Linked DNA regions of Homo sapiens: region 2 is linked to region 1. Evidence: promoter capture Hi-C in 16 types of primary human blood cells and fetal thymus (Javierre and others, 2016). All regions are on one chromosome and are shown on one strand. The core of a region is centred on a gene start or on the middle of the fragment in contact, and the rest is flanking DNA. Distances in the headings are between cores, read along the strand shown. Region 1 holds the start of GTSE1 (G2 and S-phase expressed 1). Region 2 holds the start of ATXN10 (ataxin 10).

Region 1 (3,157 bases), core at 54-2,553:
AGAGGAGTATCAGGAATGACTGTTGGGGATCCCTCTGCCATTCTCCCATGAGCAGACATCCCCAGGATGAGCTGAGGGGAATGCAATGAGCAGGCCAAACTCTTTCCAAGCTGTTTGACCACACCCACCTACCCCAGCACTCTCAGCCCCTGCCTGGTGCCCTGTGCTGAGCTGGGTGAGGCTGGGGAGACTGGTGAGTGAGGGCTGCCCTGCCCTTTTTGAGCCCCCAGTCTTCTGGTGAAGGAACATAGCAACATGGAGTGATTGGTATGGATGATGCAAAACCAGGGACATGGGACCCAGAAGTGCCCGAGCCAGCCTGGAAGGCCTCTGCCCTGGGCCCCGGGTGGCTGTTTGCTGCACAGCTCTCCCCACAGCCTGCCCCAAATAAACAGCTTATCTTCGTCCCTGAAAATGGTGCTCTCGAGTTCCATCCTTTTCAGAGCGGGTCCTCCCAGACTCCTCTTCCTGCATCCTCCTCCATCCCGCTTAGTGACACTTTGCCGTGGGTGGAGCCCCTCATTTGATCCTCAAGCCCCCGAGGTGGGTATTATACCTCGTTCGCAGGCAAAGGCTCAAGCGAGGTCAGTCTTAAGTTGCTGCCCACTGACCCGTCTACCAGTCCTGTCCTTGCGTCTCCATGGCTCAGGTCAGGGTTATCCTATCTGCTTCCCACCTCTCTCCAACACATGCACTCCCCAAGGCAGGCTCCATCACCGGGCCCCAGCCCCTGGCTCTCTCCTCCAACGCAGCTCCCCAGCCGGCCTGTAAAACCGAGGACAGGCTCCCGCCACGCCCTCGGCGGTCCTCAGGCCTTGGCGGTTGGGGAAGCCCGCCAAGGGCGACGGTTCCCCTCCAGCCCCACAGGCTGTGCAGCTCCGGCAATGAGTCTCCCTCAGGTCTCTGGGTCAGCCGGCGCCCCAGTGCGTGCCTCGGGGGCAGGGATCCCGGCTTTTCACTACTGTTAGTAACAGCTCGCGCGCGCTGCTTCACAGCAGGTGGGTGAGCCTACTTTTAGTCTTCCCATCGACACCCTTAGATGGCAGTTTTAACTTTCTCCCTACACACAAGGAGCTGCTATACATGGTTCCGGCTTGACGCGGATACCTAGTGACACTTGGCGGCCAGGCCGGGCAGACTTCCGGGTGGGTGATCCCTGGCGCTGTGCGGAGCCATTCGCTGCGCTGAAGCAGTGCGCATGCGCACTGGACGCTTCTTACCAGCGTCCTGACTACAATACCCAGGACGCACCCAGCCCGCCGCCTCTCGGAGCCCTTTTCAAACCGACCAATCGGCAACCCGCGTCTCCCGGCGCCGCGTTTAAATCCGTGCCGGAGGCGCGTCCTGCATCGTCTGCCGCTTTGGGTAAGGTGGGGTCAGGGTCGGGGGCGAGGCTTGCCCGGTGGGCCCGGTGCGGCGCGGTGCCCGCCGTTTTCGGGACGGGGAGGGGCCGCGCCCCGCCAGGAGCCGGGCCTGGGCTCGAGCAGGGGTCACTGAGGCCCCTCGCGCCGTGGTCGGGGATGCCGGGAGGTCTAGGGCTGCCCCCCAGGCAAACAGAGCCCCCAACACTCTGGCCCAGAAGCCGAGAATTCCGTTATCTCGTCTGATGGCGTTCGGGCTGACTCCCGGCCTGGCGGCACTCGGGCCCTGGGGTCCCCTGGGATGCGATCATTTCAGAGCGGCCCCCGCGCCGCCTCTCCCAGACCTGGCCGCGGCCTTCAGCTCTCTCTGCCTCTGTGAGCCGAGGGCTGAAGGAAGCCGGAGCCCTGGGCCCTGACACGTACTCACTTTCTGGCCCCGTTCCACCCTGCAGTGACTTCTGACAGCTCTCTCCATGGAAGGAGGCGGCGGCCGCGATGAGCCTTCAGCCTGCCGGGCAGGGGACGTGAACATGGATGACCCTAAGAAGGAAGGCAAGTCCTTGCTGCTGCGGCGCTGTTGTTGTTCAGGATGTTCAGTAGAGATGGAGGGTGATTTAATGTTTCCCTGAGAAATTCTTTCTCAAGTGCTCGACTTGTACTCTGCACCTGTGAAACACATGACATCTGCCTTCGTTTTCTGGTTTTCTTTCACCTCCTCCCCATTTTAAGTTTCATCACAGCCAGGATTCTCATCCGTTTTATTTACCGCAGTGCTCCCATGCCCTGAACAGCACCTAACACTTTGTGGGCTCTCAAATATTTATTGTATTGAATTCGATGTTTTCTTTTTTGTTTGTCGCTGGTTTCTGTTTGCTAAGACTTATTTAGGATCTTTGAGACCATGTTAATGAGTAAGCCTGGCCCCAAACCCCTTTCTTCTTGTGTCTTTGACTGGTTTGGGTATCAAGGTGAGGGTACAGCTTCACAGAATGAGTTACAGGCCACACCCTCTTTTTCTCTCAAAGCGTTTTTATTTATTTATTTATTTATTTATTGACGGAGTCTCGCTCTCTCACCCAGGCTGGAGTGCAAAGGCGTGATCTGTACTCACTGCAACCTCTCTCTCCTGAGTTGAAGGGATTCTCCTGCCTCAGCCTCCCTAGTAACTGGGATTACAGGCACCCGCTGCCACACCTGGCTCATTTTTGTATTTTTAACAGAGACGGGGTTTTGCCATGTTGCCCAGGCTGGTCTCGAACTCCTGAGCTCAGGCAATCTGCCTGCCTCGGCCTCCCAAAGTGCTAGGATTATAGGTGTGAGCCACCTCACCCAGCCTCACAAAGCATTTTGACATCCCTTGGGTAGTTTTCTCACACTACCCAAGGATCCTTTCTTTTTGAGACCAAGTCTCACTCTGTCTCCCAGGCTGGAGTGCAGTGGCATGATCTTGGCTCACTGCAACCTCTGCCTTTCGGGTTCAAGCGATTCTCCTGCCTCAGCCTCCCGAGTAGCTGGGATTACAGGCACCCGCCACCACACCTGGCTGATTTTTGTATTTTTAGTAGAGATGGGGTTTTACCATGTTGGCCAGGCTGGTCTCAAACTCCTGACCTCAGGTGATCCACCTGCCTAGGCCTCCCAAAGTACTGGGATTACAGGTGTGAACCACCGCGCCTGGCCCCAAGCATCCTCAATGCCTCCATTTTGCAGGAACTGTCCTGGAGACTTTACAAATCAATGTTGCATCTTCATATCTAGCAAGGCGCTTGCCTCTGCACCCCTCTCCTCCTTCCTGT
Region 2 (3,209 bases), core at 657-3,156, 630 kb before region 1:
GAATGCAGTGGTATGATCTCAGCTCAGTGCAACGTGTGCCTTCCAGGTTCAAGCAATTCCCTTGTCTCAGCCTCCCAAATGGCTGGGACTACAGGCACCCGCCACCATGCCTGGCTAATTTTTAGTAGAAAGGGGGTTTTGCCATGTTGGCCAGACTGATCTTGAACTCCTGACCTCAAGTGATCTGCCCGCCTCGGCCTCCCAAAGTGCTGGGATTACAGGCATGAGCCACCGTGTCTGGCCTAAAGATCAGGATTTTGGTGCATAACAAGTACATTTTACTATCCTGTGCTCCTCAAGGGAAAATTAAGAGATTTTTGCCCTGTTAGCTTAAGGAGTGTTAAACATTTTGCATTGTCTTGAGCACTGCTACTAATAAGTGATCTAATACCTGGCACATAGTACACCGCAATATTCGTGGAATGAATAAATACATACTCAATTAAATGGGTAAACTGAATGACAATATCAAGTAACTTGCTTGTGCAGCAGCATTCATTTCCCTCCCTCCTTTTTTTTTTTTTTTTTTTTTTTTTTTGATACAGGGTATCATTCTGCCACCCAGGCTGGAGTGCAGTGGTGTGATCACAGCTCACTGCAGCCTCGACCTCCTGGGCTCAAGTAATCCTCCTGCCTTGGCCACCCAAAGTGCTGGGATTACAGGCATGAGCCACCATGCCCCACCAGGATTCACTTTTTCTGCATACTCTGGTGGTGTTTATTGTTATCTTTACATTTTATTTAGCAAAGAATGTTAAAAGCGCCATGTTATAAGCACACTCCTACCCTCCAAGCAGAATGTAAAGGGTATGTATTTATATATTTTAAGTGGTCCCACAGCAATTTGTACAGTTATAGCAGTTCACAACTATACTCAGTTATGTTTGCTTCTCTCCTTCTCAATAGTCTGTGAGGTTCCTTCAGGTTTGGAACTGTCTTTTATTAATCTTTACATCTCCAGCACCTAGCGCAGGGCTTAGCAACAATTTTTGTTGAAAGTATATACACTGTAATAAAGGGCAGTGGAAAGAAAATATGTGAGTTATCAACACCAGCTAGAGAAGCCTTGTCTGATTCCTGTGAAATATATTCATTTCCCTTAGGAAAAAAAACAATTCTAACCCTATTGCTGTGTAACTTAGCTTCTTGACTTCGAACGGTATTTTAAGGCTTTGAGGAGCTGGAGCAATGTATACTCACTAGAGGCAAAGTGCCTGGTAAGTGGTCTGGTATTGATCAGCAATGATCAGTAAGTACTGGGAAGTGCGTTTTCAGGGCCTGAGACTTGCAAGCTAGTGACAGACCGCTCCAGCTTCCAGTGGACCCGGGCGGGGGCACTGATCAACCCACTTGAGCAGTGGGATCAAGGTCTTCAGCCTTAGCAGTGGGAGCCTCTGCCCGGCCCCCTTCGTTCCCGAGACCCTCAGTCAGCGTCTCCTCCCAAGAGGGTCCCCTCCACCCAGAATGTCCTCCCCTGGGGGAGACCACTCTGTCTGCGGGCCCCCTCCCACAGGAGGGCCCCTCTTCCTCAAGGTGAACCTCTGTCCCCGATACCCGCTCCCAAGACCGAGACCTTGTTACGGCCCCACCCTCCACAGGCCCCTTACCCCCCGGATCCCCTCCCCTGGGGGAGACCCCTCTGTCCGCGGGCACCCTCCTATAGGACGCGCCCCTCTTTCTCAGGGTGAACCTCTGGTTCCCGATACCCGCTCCCAAGACCGAGACCCTGTTACGGCCACATCAACACAGGTCCCCCTCCCCCCGGCGTCCCCTCCCCTCGGAGGAGCCCCGTCTGCGACGCTTCCCAGTCAATCACCCCCAGCATCCCTCCCCGCTCTCACCCAGAACTTCCGCCGCGCCCCCTCCCCTCAGGCGGGACTTCCGCCGGCGCCCCCTCCCCCGCGGCGCCGTCTCCTCCTCCCGCCTGAGGCGAGTCTGGGCTCAGCCTAGAGCTCTCCGGCGGCGGCGCAGCTTCAGGGCAGCGCGGGCTGCAGCGGCGGCGGCGGTTAGGGCTGTGTAGGGCGAGGCCTCCCCCTTCCTCCTCGCCATCCTACTCCTCCCTCCTCGTCATCCTCCCCCTTCGTCCTCCTCGCCTTCCTCCTCCTCGTCAGGCTCGACCCAGCTGTGAGCGGCAAGATGGCGGCGCCCAGGCCGCCGCCTGCCAGGCTGTCGGGCGTCATGGTGCCGGCGCCCATCCAAGACCTGGAGGCCCTGCGCGCGCTCACGGCGCTCTTCAAAGAGCAGCGGAACCGGTAACGGGTCCGGCCGGGGGGCTGCCCCGGGCAGGGGAGGGCGGCCGGGACTCCCGCGGCGGCCCCGGCCTGGACCCAGGCGCCGCCCCCGCCTCGCTGGAGACGCGGAGGGCGAGGCCTGCGCGGGCTGCCTGAGCGCCACCCAGGCCTCCCGACTCCCAGGCACCGCCTCGTGCTCGTGGGTCCCCGCGGGGCCTGGGGCGGGCGCCCCGCTCCCCCACCGCAGCCAGTCCGGGTGCGAAGCCGCGATCCCGGGAGCCCTTGCCGCGGCGTGCCGGTGATGTTGACCCAACACACGGTTAGGCCTCCCCTGTCATGTGCGAGGGCTGCGCCAGGCCCTGGCTGCAAGACCCACGCGGCCCCCAGAGTCATAAAGCGTGTGTTTTAGCGGGAGAGACCCGTGTTACGGACGCGGGAATTGGGCAGTTGCGGGGATGGCAGTCTCTAGGCATGGAGTGGGACTGGCACTCCTTTCTCCTCGGCGTTAGAGCCCAGGCTGCACCATCTGCCCTGGGGGCAGCGCTCTGTGCAGTGTGGAAGAGCACGGGCCTGGAGAGACCAGTCCAGTCCTGATGCCACTGAGGGGCAAGATAGCCAGGCAAAAAGAGAAGGTGCCCAGGAGTCGACAGTTGTGGATTTGGTTCCTGGCCTTGCAAGCTGCGTGTTACTGTGCAGTTTCTCCAGGCCTTAGAATTCTTGTCTAAAAATGGGACTATAATACACAGCTTAGTTGCTGGATTGTACAGAGGAATAAATGAAATAAAGTACGTGAAAATATAAAATGTGCGAAGCCCTCAGTCAATGCTTGTTTGATCTTGTTCTGTCCTCTGGGCCTCAGTTTTCTTGTCTATTTAATGGGAGTAAAGTTGAACAGTACCTCCCTGGTGATAGTGTCATAAGGAGTAAATGAGATATAATGCATATTAAATCCTTAGGACATACCTGTACATAGCACTA

Evidence for each region. The method cuts DNA at HindIII sites, captures the fragments that hold promoters and counts their contacts. A CHiCAGO score of 5 or more calls a contact.
Region 2: the fragment with the promoter of ATXN10 here is called in contact with the fragment with the promoter of GTSE1 in region 1 in 2 of 17 cell types (total CD4 T cells and fetal thymus); the score reaches 6.5 in total CD4 T cells.

What each region holds. Positions count from the first base shown.
Region 1 is chr22:46,295,567-46,298,723 of GRCh38, forward strand. It overlaps GTSE1 (G2 and S-phase expressed 1), which reads left to right and starts at 1,304. Exons shown (of 12, transcript NM_016426.7): 1 at 1,304-1,365; 2 at 1,814-1,913. The coding sequence starts at 1,835. It overlaps GTSE1-DT (GTSE1 divergent transcript), which reads right to left and starts at 1,094. Exons shown (of 1, transcript NR_024009.1): 1 at 1-1,094. RefSeq lists a silencer at 1,362-1,561 and an enhancer at 1,712-1,821. The HindIII fragment of the contact is 11,600 bases long and covers 1-3,157 here.
Region 2 is chr22:45,669,928-45,673,136 of GRCh38, forward strand. It overlaps ATXN10 (ataxin 10), which reads left to right and starts at 1,907. Exons shown (of 12, transcript NM_013236.4): 1 at 1,907-2,252. The coding sequence starts at 2,137. RefSeq lists silencers at 1,580-1,769, 1,830-1,879, 2,210-2,539. The HindIII fragment of the contact is 13,202 bases long and covers 1-3,209 here.